Regions from separate parts of the Homo sapiens genome. Here regions 1 and 3 are each linked to region 2. Evidence: promoter capture Hi-C in human tissues and cell types (Jung and others, 2019). All regions are on one chromosome and are shown on one strand. Each heading gives the region's core, a stretch centred on a gene start or on the middle of the fragment in contact. The rest is flanking DNA. Distances are from core to core; before and after follow the strand shown.

What was found. Contacts are between HindIII fragments. The study calls those that stand out against the background at their distance.
Region 1: a contact is called between a fragment that was not itself captured here and the fragment with the promoter of ANKRD61 in region 2, in 2 of the 25 tissues and cell types used here (liver and mesenchymal stem cells).
Region 3: a contact is called between a fragment that was not itself captured here and the fragment with the promoter of ANKRD61 in region 2, in 2 of the 25 tissues and cell types used here (dorsolateral prefrontal cortex and mesenchymal stem cells).

What each region holds. Positions count from the first base shown.
Region 1 is chr7:5,884,198-5,888,858 of GRCh38, reverse strand. OCM (oncomodulin) reads right to left here. Exons shown (of 4, transcript NM_001097622.2): 4 at 2,496-2,795. The coding sequence ends at 2,770. Among named protein-coding and RNA genes, the nearest start is that of OCM, 5.7 kb to the right of the region's middle. The HindIII fragment of the contact is 5,338 bases long and covers 1-4,661 here.
Region 2 is chr7:6,029,508-6,034,119 of GRCh38, reverse strand. ANKRD61 (ankyrin repeat domain 61) reads right to left here and starts at 2,744. Exons shown (of 3, transcript NM_001271700.2): 1 at 2,529-2,744; 2 at 1,184-1,281. The coding sequence starts at 2,744. The region is part of intron 11 of EIF2AK1 (eukaryotic translation initiation factor 2 alpha kinase 1); the gene reads left to right. The HindIII fragment of the contact is 7,395 bases long and covers 1-4,612 here.
Region 3 is chr7:6,200,548-6,205,050 of GRCh38, reverse strand. The region is part of intron 1 of CYTH3 (cytohesin 3); the gene reads left to right. Among named protein-coding and RNA genes, the nearest start is that of CYTH3, 70 kb to the left of the region's middle. The HindIII fragment of the contact is 3,612 bases long and covers 259-3,870 here.

The DNA.
Region 1 (4,661 bases), core at 1,041-3,540, 140 kb after region 2:
GAGGCCTAGGTAGGTGGATCACCAGAGGTCAGGAGTTCGAGACCAGCCTGGCCAACATGGTGAAACCCCGTCTCTACTAAAAATACAAAACTTAGCTGGGTGTGGTGGTGCATGCCTGTAATCCCAGCTACTCAGGAGGCTGAGGCAGTAGAATCACTTGAACCTGGGAGGCAGAGGTTGCAACGAGCTGCTGCACTCCAGCCTGGGCGACAGAGTGAGACTGTCTCAAAAAACAAACAAAAACAAAAAAAGTCACTATGCTGAGAGTGATACTGTTAAAAAAAAAGTTTGTGCCTGTCACCCTAAGTCATCTTGAGGCCCCCTGCTAGTATGTGCCCCATACTTTGAGGAACCACATTTAACATGACCCTCTGGAAAACAAAGGCTCAAAAGCCACTAAGCTGGTTAGTGTGCCCGAAGCAATCTGGAAGAGCCCCAAGGCCTCTTGTGAGCTGGAGGGTTTAGTAAAAAGTGTGAGCTTTTACACAAGCTCTCCAGAAAATGCCTCAATTGTTCCCAGGAGTCCTCAACTCACAGGGTTAGCCCAAGAGAAGAGCTTTAATGTGCCACCTGGAAACCAGCCTGGTGAGAATTTCCTGGCTTAAGACTGCCCAGCCCTAATGACAGCCCTGTAACAGAACCCCGGAGGCTCACCTCAAACCGAAGGCAAGGCTAGGTGTATTGGGCTTAGGTGAATCGCCTTAGAGCCAGGAAGCCAGTGGCTGAGAAAGAGAAGCGGGAGGTGTCAGAGGACTGGGTGACAGCAGGTGAGCCTCTCTGAGGGCTCGTTTCTCTCTCTCTCTTTTTTTTTTTTTTTTTTTTGATAGCTTGTTTCTCAGAGAAGAAGAAGATGGCCAGGTATGGTGTCTTATGCCTAATTGTGGCTTGGAATCCTTTGGGAGGCCTAGGCGGGCGGATCACCTGAGATCAGGAGTTCGAGACCAGCCTGGCCAACAAGGTGAAACCCTGTCTTTAGAAATACAAAATTAGCTGCACGTGGTGGTGGGCACCTGTAATCCCAGCTACTCAGGAGGCTGAGACAGGAGAATTGCTTGAACCTGGGAGGCGGGGGTTGCAGTGAGCCGAGATCATGCCACCTCACTCCAGCCTGGGTGACAGAGTGAGACTGTCTCAAAATGAAAAGGAGAAAAAGGACTTGAAAATGGATCTGTGCTGGCTCACACCTGCAATCCCAGCACTTTGGGAGGCTGAAGTGGGATAATGGCTTGAGACCAGCAGTTCCAAACCAGCCTGGGCAATAGAGCGAGACCCTCCCCCACCATCTCTAATAAATAAACAATAAAAAGTAAGGCCGGGCGCAGTGGCTCATGCCTGTTATCCCAACACTTTGGGAGGCTGAGGTGGGAGGATGGCTTGAGCCCAAGAGTTCGAGATCAGCCTGAGCAACATAGTGAGACCCTCCCCCACCATCTCTAATAAATAAACAATAAAAAGTAAGGCCGGGTGCGGTGGCTCACGCCTGTTATCGCAACACTTTGGGAGGCTGAGTGGGAGGATCGCTTGCGCCCAGGAGTTCGAGATCAGCCTAAATAACACAGTGAGACCTCACCTCTACCAAAAACACAAACGTTAGCCGGGTGTGGTGGTGCATGCCTGTAGTCCCAGCTACTCAGGAAGCTGAGGTGGGAGGATGGTTTGAGTCCAGGAGGCAGAGGTTGCAGTGAGCTGAGATCGTGCCACTGCACTCCAGCCTGGGCGACAGAGCTGGACCTTGTCTCAAAATAAATAAATAATAAAGAGGAAATGGGTCCGTTTGTACTAACCTGGAATCGCAAGTCTCTCCTGAGCTTTACAGACCACTACAGACACGTATTCTGTTTTGTCTTGTACCTTTTGCTTTTAATTAAATCAAAGTGGCTTTCTAACACATGGCAGAAAACATACCGGTAAGAGTGACTGGCTGGGCACAGTGGCTCACGCCTGTAATCCCAGAACTTTGGGAGGCCAAGGTGGGCGCATCACTTGAGGTCAGGAGTTTGAGACCAGCCTGGCCAACATGGTGAAACTCCAACTCTGCTAAAAATACAAAAATTAGCCGGGTGTGGTGGTGTGCACCTGTAATCCCAGCTACTTGGGAGGCTGAGGTGGGACAATAGCTTGAACTTGGAAGGCAGAGGTTGCAGTGAGCCAAGATTGAGCCACTGCACTCCAGCCTGGGTGACAGAGTGAGACTCTGTCTCAAAAAAAAAAAAAAAAAAAAAAGAGTGATTTTATGCTGGCTAAAATCCCTTCCTATTAATTTCAGTGTCACAAGATTTGCTGAGAAAAATAATAGCTTGACAATGGCATTTATTTGTGACTCTAAAGAAACAACCAAAAACACCCTCCAAAACCTGATTTCCTTGTTTGCTGGACCATAACACCAGTGTGGCCCGCTCCAAGCTTGATGGGACCAGAAATCCTACAAAAAAGCCCTTGGTCCCAGTTTGCTTGAGTGTCGTGCTGAGGAAAAAACACGCCCACACATCAGCAGATGATGAGAAGCCTGTCTTTATTGGGTGATTTTTAGAGGCATTGCCTGTTGGGGGAAGGGGGGCTTACAGAAGTTGTCAGGGCATATACCCACCACCAAGAAAGTCAGGAGTGACTCCCTCGTGACCTCACTAAAACAATGAGCAAACTGCAGAAGGTTTTCAGGGAAAATTAACAAATTAGGTAGGGATGGGATGTGGGGTTCCCCATTCCCAGGGCTTTGGAATCCTTCCAGGTGATTATCCCTTTCTCTCTTTTCTCCAGAGACTGGGGCTTTTAAGAATGCACCATTTCCTGGAATTCTAGAACAGAAGAGGTGAGAACAGGGTCAGTGGAGGTGGCTTGGTTCTTTACAGACGTGCCGTGGCCAATGAGAATTCCAAAGAGGGAAGGAAGCAAAGAAAATTGTCAGATGATGGGCATGGCCCCCTTGGAGGGCACAAAAGAAAGAAAAACTGGCCGGGCACAGTGGCTCATGCCTGTAATCCCAGCACTTTGGGAGGCCGAGGCGGGTGGATCATGACATCATGAGATCGAAACCATCCTGGCCAAAATGGTGAAACCCTGTCTCTACTAAAAATACAAAACTTAGCTCAGCGTTGTGGCACGTGCCTGTAGTCCCAGCTACTTGGGAGGCTGAGGCAGGAGAATCACTTGAACCTGGGAGGCGGAGGTTGCAGTGAGCCGAAATCACGCCATTGCACTCTAGCCTGGGCGAGAGAGCCAGACTCCAACTCAAAAAAAAAAAAAAAGGAAAGAAAGAAAGAAAAAAAAACCCTGGGTATCAATGACTATATCTCGAGGAAGTTCACAGGGTTCCATTTCTCTGAATAATCTTATTTAACAAACATCTTCAGCTTTGCAATAGAGGTCTTTGAATTAGAACTTGTCAAGCCTATCATTTCTCCCTGATAATGCATGAATTCAGTGGAATTACCTGTGACCATCTGTGAACATTTAACTTTTTGTCTGGTCAATTTCAGACAGGAAGGGGAGATTTTCTTTCTCTATTCCGTAGCTGGGTATTGCATTTTTAGGATATATTTGATAGGGTGGGACTTTGAACTGACTTTCCTCCATTGAACCAAACTCCAAACGTTTCTGTTACTAAAAGAAGGATAATAGTAATAATAACAAGGTATGGATGTTACAGATTGATATAAAAAACTGGGGACTTGCTTTATATTTATTGGTAAGCTTTGTTTATTTGGAAATCCTTCATGGTTATGTTTTTTTTTTTCTTTTGAGATAGAGTTTCACTCTTGTTGCCCAGGCTGGAGTGCAATGGTGCCATCTTGGCTCCCTGCAACCTCTGCCTCCCAGGTTCAAGCGATTCTCCTGCCTCAGCTTCCCGAGTAGTTGGGATTACAGGTGCCCACCACCATGACCGGCTAATTTTTTATATTTTCAATAGAGATGGGGTTCACCATGTTGGTCAGTCTAGTCTTGAACTCCCGACTTCAGGGGATCTGCCCACCTTGGCCTCCAAAATTGCTGGGATTATAGGCCTGAGCCACCACGCCCAGCCCCTGGTTATGTTTAAATAAGGCAATCCCCCCTTACCTAATCTGTTTTTATGAGCTATCTATCTGCATTAACTCCCATGTAGTAAGCGATAGTGGTATAATTTTGAACAGGTTTTTTTTTTTTTAATAAGCATCTAACGTAGCAGTTTTAAATTTCAAATTAGCACCACCAGAAGGACCATCATATGTTCTGCTGAGTTGGCAGGCACAAAGCAGTTAAAAAGCACGCTAGCAACATGACAAAATCAAGTGAAAATAGTCCTACAGCTGTGCTAGTGTATTCTAAAGCTCAAACCTAGGATTCGGCCTATGGAAGACTCAATAAATGAGGTTGGCTTATTTGTTCTCTGTTTAATATTATCCCCTTGGCGGGCTAATGTCCAATAAAATATATTTGTCTAAACCCTTGAAGACGAAGAGGGCTTCCTACGCATGCCAATGGACCCTGGTCTGAGGATGTAAATCTTTCCCTTATTCTGAGGGGTTCAAACCCCACTGGTAGAAATACCTCGCGCTTTATGCAGGTGCATTATGGTTGGCAGGTGCAAATAATTGGCCAGGTGGCTAGCTAGTCCCCTAGTCAGGTGAAGGATATTTTGCAGCTCATAGACAATGACCAGTGTGACCAGCTTCTATAGTACC
Region 2 (4,612 bases), core at 1,495-3,994:
GGTCTCGAACTCCTGACCTCATGATCCACCCACCTCAGCCTCCCATGGTGCTGGGATTACAGGCGTGAGCCACCGCGCCCGGCCTATACTACTTAATTCTTTCATTCACTCGGATAGTATTACTGAGCACGTGCTAAGTGTCAGGCATTGATTTGGTTGAGGTGCTGGAGATACAGTGGTGCACAAGGTCAACTTCTCTTTCATGCGGCTTACCTTCTAGTGGAGAGTAATAAACAAGAAAATCCATTGTCGGCCAGGCACGGCGGCTCACGCCTGTAATCCCAGCACTTTGGGAGGCTGAGGTGGACGGATCACGAGGTCAGGAGATTGAGACTATCCTGGCTAACATGGTGAAACCCCATCTCTACTAAAAATACAAAAAATTAGCCAGGCGTGGTGGCAGGCGCCTGTAGTCCCAGCTACTTGGGAGGCTGAGGCAGGAGAATGGCGTGAACCCAGGAGAATGGTGCCACTGCACTCCAGCCTGGGCGACAGAGCGAGACTCTGTCTCAAAAAACAAAAACCAAAAATAAAGAAAATCCATTGTCTACCTATATTTTATTTTTCACACCTAACTTTGGTGGTTAAACTTATTGAAGGCCATGGCAAGGACTTTACTGCATTCCTCACAACACCACCATTGAGCTCTTAATCCTCAGAATGTGCATTAATTTGGCAAAATATTTATGATGTTGCATTTTTCTCAGTTTTTCAGAGTATCTCATCTACTCAGTAAAGACATTGGTTCATTCATAAGAACGAACAAGTCCAAACATAAGTGGAAAAAATGTATGAACTGAAAAAAAAATCTATATCAGGTATATCCTCACTTAGAAATGATTGTCAGTGAAGCTGGGTGCTGTGGCTGAGGGCTGTTAATCCCAGCACTTTGGGAGGCCGAGGCAGGTGGATCACTTGAGGCCAGGAGTTCAAGACCAGCCTGGCCAACATGGTGAAACCCTGTCTCTACTAAAAATACAAATGTTAGCTGGGCATGGTGACGCACACCTGTAATCCCAGCTACTCGGGAGGCTGAGGTGGGAGAAGCTCTTGAACCCAGGAAGTAGAGGTTGCAGTGAGGCGAGATTGTGCCATTGCACTCCAGCCTGGGCAACAGAGCGAGACCCCTGCCTCAAAACAAAAAAGAAAAAAAAAGAAATGATTTTCGGTGGAGTTAACTTACCTGACTTCTGGGTCAGCACCGTGCCGTAACAGGCAGAGCAGACTCTGGGCCTTGTGGTACTTGGCAGCCAGATGGATGGGGATGATAGACTCTGTCGGCTTTGGAGGGAAAACAAAACACATTACAAGTGGCCCTGTGTAGTTAAAAATACTGTTTGTGTTAGCTTGCCGTTTCAAAGGCAATACATTTATTTAGTGTCTCATTGGCTCACTCTTTTTCTGGTATGTGCATTGAAAGTTTCCTTTCTACTACCTGTTTTAAATGATCAAAATTCAGTGAATTCCATCCTATAAAATCTGTGTTTCACAGAAATGCACATTTACTGAGGCAACAGAAATAACACTCAAAAGCTTTGGAAATTTTTGAAAGTTGATTCTTCAGAAGAGCCTGTGGTGTGATATTAAGGGTACTTGCTATGAAGTCACTTATTCCTTAAATTAACCCACAGGGTGATGGACAAGTAGGTGCTGTGTCGTTGCCAAAGTCGTATTATCAGCAGTAAAACCTGAATCTTCAGGGTTTTCAAATATAACGCAGCATATGTTCTGTCTATGATTAGCAGAGCTGTTTGTGCCAGCTCTTAAAATACACACGTGTAAGTAGTGGTTTCACACCGTGGCTGCAAGATAAGACAGTAGGGTACAAGGGAGGGTGACTTCCTTTTTGAATTTAATTGTAAAAGTAATAATCATTGTATAAAAATTTAGAAAATGAAAATGTATATATTAAAAAGGGAAAAACTATTTTTTGTTTGTTTGTTTGAGATGGAGTCTTGCTCTGTCATCCAGGCTAGAGAGTGCAGTGGTACGATCTTGGCTCACTGCAACCTCTGCCTCCTGGGTTCAAGCAATTCTCCTGCCTCAGCCGTCCGAGTAGCTGAGATTACAGGCTCCTGCCACCAAGCCCGGCTAATTTTTGTATTTTTAGTAGAGACGGGGTTTTGCCCTGCTGGCCAGGCTGGTCTCGAACTCCTGACCTCAGGTGATCCACCCACCTCAGCCTTCCAAAGTGCTGGGATTACAGGCATGAGCTACTGCGTCTGGCCAAAAAAGGGAAAAACTAATTTGACCACATGGAGATCATCACTGTGGGTATGTTTGAGAGATGACATGAATGGTCTTCCAGTCACACAGGGTCTGGTGTTTTCTCATGTTGGTTTGTGTGTGACATGTGTAGGGGAGGCTTTGCAGGCTTTGGGGAGCACTGCAGTGTGTGTGGAGTGAGCTGGAGTCGTGTCTCATTCTCATAAGGGCCGTGAGCTTAGTGGGTTCACCAGCTTTAGATCATGCTTCTTTCTAAGCAGCCTGACTTTTTTCCAGAAGTGACTGAGCAGAAAAGAGGGTACCTGGGTCAGAAGTAATCTGTTGCTGGCGGAGTTGGGCAGAATGGTGATGGGCTGGTTGACAGGGTGATTTCTCAGGAGTACCTCGATCGTAGTGCAGTCTTCTCTCATGATGGCTTCATAGAGTTTCGAGTGAAGTGCTGCAGATGGGCCATCTTCCAGGGACTTGGCACTGTCAACCACCAGGTCTCTGCTTCCTTTCCTGGTTATATTCCCCATGAGAAAAACTTAAGACTTCAGGGGAAAATGTTGTTATGGAATTGGTCAGTTTCAGTCTCTTTGTGATGATTCTTTCAGTTCAGTTCTAGAACTGTTCTAGAATTTGTCGAGAATTGGATCTGTGAAGGCAATCCATCAGTTTGGAACCAAGCGTCCAGACTTTGTTCCTTGATCATAGAATGTCAAATGTCAGCAGTTTTTAGGGTTTTCTACTCTATCATAAAAACATATTCAAGCTATCATCTTACACCTTTATTTCTGATTTCTCTCCAGTTCAAGTGTAGCTGAAACAATGATCAAAGCTAAAACAGAGGAATTTATACATTAAAATACAAAGTTAAAATTATTACTTTTAAAGTAAGAAAACTTTTAACCTTAAGTTATTTTTTAGTTTTTATTATAATAGAATCTTCCCTCTCCCCATTATGGGTTCAGTTTTTCTCCGGCATAGGAATAGTTTGGGAGATGTTTTGGGTCTGTACTCTTTGCTTAAATAAAGCCATTTAGTGTGATCTATTAGTTCCCAACCCTGGCTAATACATATGAGTTATCTGGGAGCTTTTAAAAAATATCAAAGTTGGCTGGGTGCGGTCGCTCATGCCTGTAATCCCAGCACTTTGAGAGGCCAGGGCGGGCAGAACATGAGGTCAAGAGATCAAGACCATACTGGCCAACATGGTGAAACCCTGTCGCTACTAAAAATACAAAAAGTAGCTGGCTGTGGTGGCGTGCGCCTGTAGTCCCAGCTACTCAGGAGGTTGAGGCAGGAGAATTGTTTGAACCTGAGAGGTGGAGGTTACAGTGAGCCGAGATGGCACCACTGCACTCCAGCCTGGCGACACAGCAAGACTCTGTCTTAAAGAAAAAAATCAGTTTTTTCGTAGTGCGAGAAACATGCTCACCCGTCCAAACCCAAAGAGTGAACTTAGAGGCACAAAGAACAGTGAAAGTGAGACTTTTAATAGCCCTCTTGCAAGGTCACGTGTCTGGTAGGCAGGTACACCCAGGGCAGTTACAACAGGTGATTTATCTCCTAGCATGCAAGACCCTACCTCAGTTCCTCACTGGTCAAGGACTACAGGGTTACGATCTTCCCGGACGTCGCCTAAGTTGCATTATCCCCTTAGAAGGTTATACCCTGGTCCCTTTCCCGCTTAAGTTTGGATTTCCCAGTAATGAAACTTTCTTCCCTTTTATGGGCTGACTCCTCTACATCCTGTTCACTTATTGTGATCTTCCAGGTGGATGAGCCATGTGGTTTGTTACATTTGCAGGCTGGCTGCCGGTGCTTAGATTTATCATGCCTTGAAAAAGCCATTTAAAATGTTTTCTCACACATAGAAAATCACGTCTCTGGACTCGACAGGACAGTCGTTTCTTTTCTTTTCTTTTTTTTGAGACAGAGTCTCACTCTGTTTCCCAGGCTGGAGTGCAGTGATGCGATCTCGTCTCACTGCAACCTCTGCCTCCCAGGTTCAAGCAATTCTGCCTCAGCCTCCCGAGTAGCTGGGATTACAGGCATGCACCACCACACCTGGCTAATTTTTGTATTTTTAGTAGAGATGGGGTTTCACCATGTTGGCCAGCCTGGTCTTGAACTCCTGACCTCAGGCGATTTGCCCGCCTCAGCCTCCTAAAGTGCTGAGATTACAGGTGTGAGCCACCGTGCCCGGCCGAGGACAGTCATTTCTAAGAGCTTCTTGGGTAATGATGTGCAGTAAGGGTTGGGAAGCACTTGTGTACAAAGCATGCTCTACATTAATATTCTCCAAATTTAGAATAGCCTTGGGACTTTTAATAATACTGATGCTTGCGTTCACCCGCAGGAGTTCTGATGCAGCTGGCCTGGGGAATGGTTGAATGTTGAG
Region 3 (4,503 bases), core at 815-3,314, 170 kb before region 2:
GGGACTACAGGTGTGCACCACCATACCTGGCTAATTTTTGTATTTTTAATAGAGACAGGGTCTTCGCCATGTTGCCCAAACTGGCCTTGAACTCCTGGGCTCAAGTGATCCACCCACCTCAGCCTCCCAAAGCTCTGGAATTACAGGCGTGAGCCACCGCACTCATCCTCTAGTCACTGTTTTGCAATTGATTTTTAACTTGATTGTTTTGTGTTCAGAGAATGTGGTCTTTATGACAACAGTAGTTTGTTATAGTTCGATACAGGAAACATAGAGCACTCTAAGTATTTTGAGCAGGAAGGAATGATTTGATTGGGGAGCCATGGGTTGGCTAAAGGAGTGGGCCCTGGCTTGGCTCTCCAAAATCGAGTCACCAGAGGAATTCTCGCCTGCTAGGCAACTCCTGCAACCATGGAGGTCCGTGCATATCCTCAGCCGTGATGGGGTCCACAGAACCTGAATCAGGAGGCCACAGTGCTGGAATGAACTCTCAATTCCTAGGAATCTAGAGAACGAACACTAGATAGAAAGCTGTTGCAGAAAATCCTCACCTTTCACATCTTTGTGGGCCAGCTGAGCAGCAGCCTGTGTAAAAGGGCAGGACGAGGACTTCTGCTTCACTGCTCTCTTTTGAATCCTGTACACTGCCTCTGTTTGGCAGAATAAGAGGATCTGGAGATGTAATTTTGAGCTTTCTAAACTCTGCTTTACTTGAAGGCACCTCCAGAGATTGAGCAAAGCACCTTCATCTCCACTACACCAATCCTTTGAAATTTATTTTCTTTTTTCACATGTGCTTGAATGTATATTGCACACCTGTTGGGTGCCATGATCCCACTGAGTTTGTCTGTATCAATTGTAAGATGCGTCGTTAGCTTATGTTCCATTAAGAAGAAAAAAGCTGGCACCTAAACCAGGGGCAATGAATCCTTCTCACTTAGAATCTTTATTTATACTGTCTGATTTTTTTTCAACTTAATATTGGTTTCTTTTTTTTTTTTCTATTGTGAACATATATAAAAAGTGAAATATGAAGCTGAGTGCGGTGGCTAACGCCTGTAATCCCAGCACTTTGGGAGGCTGAGGCGGGTGGATCACGAGGTCAGGAGATCAAGACCATCCTGGCTAACACAGTGAAACCCTGTCTCTACTAAAAATAAAAAAATTAGCCGGGCATGGTGGCAGGCGCCTGTAGTCCCAGCTACTCGGGAGGCTGAGACAGGAGAATGGTGTGAACCCAGGAGGCGGAGCTTGCAGTGAGCCGAGATTGGGCCATTGCATTCCAGCCTGGGCGACAGAGCGAGACTCTGTCTCCAAAAAAAAAAAAGGTGGAATATGAGTACAGTAAGTTGGTCAAGGTATTCCTGAAGCTTATTTACAGATTCCAACTCCTGAATCAGTTGTCTACTCAGAATAGTTGATATTTATGTTTTTCTACACAGTGCTGTCACCATCGAAGGCATTAGTGACACAGCAGTTCTTAAAGAGTGCTCCTATATTGTCTCCCGGATTTTTTTCTAATGTTTTGCAGAATTTTCTGCTGAGACTTTGTTGATCTTACCAGAAAGTATCAATGAATAATCTGTGGCAATGACTAGACTCATAATCCTTCATCAGATTATTCTTAAATTTTGTTTTTTTGCATGAAACGTTAAGGAGTAGCAGTTGTTTAGTTTTGCCTCTAGCAATAGTCAGATTCACAGCTATGGAGGCAATGATATGTAAATGTCACAATTCACTTCAAATATGTTAAAATGTGAAAAAAAAGCACATCTTATAATCAGTGAAGTATATTATGTCCATTAAATCAAGCTTGCTATTGTGTTGGTAAGATCTTCAACATTTTTTTTTTTTTGCCTTTGGGAAAAATTTTATTTTTACATGTACATCTGTCAATTTTTGCTTTATATATTTTGAGACTATTTTGTTAGATGCATATAAATTCTGACTTTGTGAATAACTGAACAAAATATCATTATCTAGTGACTCATAGCTTTAGTCTATTTTTCTTAAAGTTTTTTTGCCTATTTTTTCTTATAGCGGTACCAACTTTTTGGTAAGAATTTGTCTGGTATGTCACTTTCTACCCTTTTACCAACTTTTATGTATTCGTATGTTTTAAATATGCCTCTTTTAAAGAGCATTTAGTGGGATGTTTTTTGTTCTGGTTTTTAAGTCCAAGTTTTAAAACTTTACTCCTTTTTTTCACTTATGTTCATTGTAAATGTATCAGTTACTTCTTACTGCATAACAAACTTCTTCAAAGGAATTGGTTTAAAACAGCAATGGCCTGGCTGGGCACGGTGGCTCACGCCTGTAATCCCAGCACTTTGGGAGGCCAAGGCGGGCGGATCACCTCAGGTCGGGAGTTTGAGATGAGCCTAACATGGAGAAACCCCTTTTCTACTAAAAAAACAAAATTAGTTGGGCGTGGCGGCGCATGCCTGTAATCCCAGCCACTCAGGAGGCTGAGGCAGGAGAATCGATTGAACCCAGGAGGCGGAGGTTGCGGTGAGCTGAGATTCGCACCACTGCACTCCAGCCTGGGCAACAAGAGCGAAACCCTGTCTCAAAAAAAAAAAAAAAAAAAAAACTAGCAATGGCCTGTTGTCTCACCATCCAAATTTCCAAGTTGGCTGGCGGTTCACGTGCTGCTCTTGTCTGGGTTCACCCACGTTGTCATATTCAGCTGGAAGGCCAGCCGGGGGCTGAGCCCGTCCCAGATGACTTCACTTACGCGTTCGTCTGGGGCCTTGGCTGAGGTGCTGCAGCAGCTGGGACCTCAGGGACTCTTCCGTGTGGTTTCTTTACACAATGGATTTCATTTTCAAGGTTGCTGGCCCAGGGCATGGTGGTCTCAGGTTCCAGGACAGGGGAGGGACAAGACCTTGAGGCCTGGGTGCTGGGCCCTGCCCACTGTCAAATCTGCCATCTTCTCTTGGTCAAAGGAAGTCCCAAAGCCAGTCCAGAGAAAACACTGGGAAATAGACTTCCCTTCTTGAGAGGAGGAACCTCAAAATACCATGGCTGTGTTTTTCTGTCTACCATGGTAAAGATCAGTATATTTGGATTTTTTTTCCTGCACCCAATATTTTGCATTTTGTATTTCTAACAGTTGTTCTGTGTTTCTCTTTCTCTTTCCTTGCCTTTTTTTGGATTATTTTTTCTCATTCCAGTTTTAATTTCCCTTTCCCAATTTGGGCATTTTGAGCTCCATTCCTTTCCTGCTTACCCTAGAAATTTTAGTATGCCTTCTTAACTTGACAAGTCTAAAGTTAATCATCTATCCGCTCCGCCTTCGAACCCTAAGAACTTGAGAGCAAATTACTTCCCTTCTTATTTACATGCTGTTGTTGTTGAGCATTTTAGTTCTGTTCTTACTCTATGAGATGTTGTTATCTTACACAGTCAGGTTTTTTTAAGATTTACTTATGGAAACCAGTGCTCATCATTTTCTCTTGATGCTCACACCTCCTGTACTGGATCCCTTCTCTTGATTGAACTTATTTAAGAATTTCTGTTAGTGATAATGGTGCACCAGTGGCCAACTCCAGTTTGTGTCTGAAAATGTCACCTTTCACCTAATCCAAAGAAGGCTGGGTAAGGAACCAGTGTCCTGGAACAGTGAAGATCACCACATGGAGATTGAGGAGAAATGACAAGAAAGAAGGTTCCAAGGAGGTGGCGAGAATCGGACCCTTGGAGCCTCTGCGGCTTTCCTGCCTGCCCCTGCAGCTCAGTGCAGCATCCTGGCTAGCTGCGGCATGCCACTCACCTGGCCCTTTCCGTTGTTGCTAACACGTGACTGCCCTGTTACCCACCTGGATGTCATAGTTTGAATGCTGCTTTATCACCCACTGAGGTCACCCGACTGTCGAGTGGTGAGGAGAGGCAGAGCGCAGCCCCTGGCAGCTCAGAGCCTGCCCTTTTGTTCTGCGTGTCATCATACTGCTTCAGTAGTCTCCAGAAACTCATGCTCATTTAACAGTTGAGCCAGGCAAGGTGGCTCATACCTACAATCCCAGCACTTTGGGAGGCCGAAGTAGAGGATTACTTGAGCCCAGGAGTTTGAGACTAGCCTGGACAACAACATAGTGAGACCCTGTCTCTACAAAAACAATTTGAAAGTTAGCTGGGCATGGTGGTACGTGCCTGTGGTCCCAGCTATTCAGGAGGCTGAGGCGGGAGGATCACCTGAGTTTGGGACGCTGAGGCTGCAGTGAGCTGTGATTGTGCCATTGCAGTCCAGACTGAGTGACAGAGCAAGATCCTTTCTCAAAATAACCAGTTTAAATTGCTGGATATAACAGTGTTATGAGATAGGTGTTATTTCTGTGTGTGTTAAACCACGGCTCCATGTAGAGTTTCCATGTAGTGGATTAACTGGGACTAGTGCTCAAAGCCCATGCTTTGCCAGTGTTCTGTTTCCTGCAGAATCGGCCAGTCTCTGAACTGACCAAAAATCTAAAAAGCTCCATATCACAACAAAAATTAGTATTGATT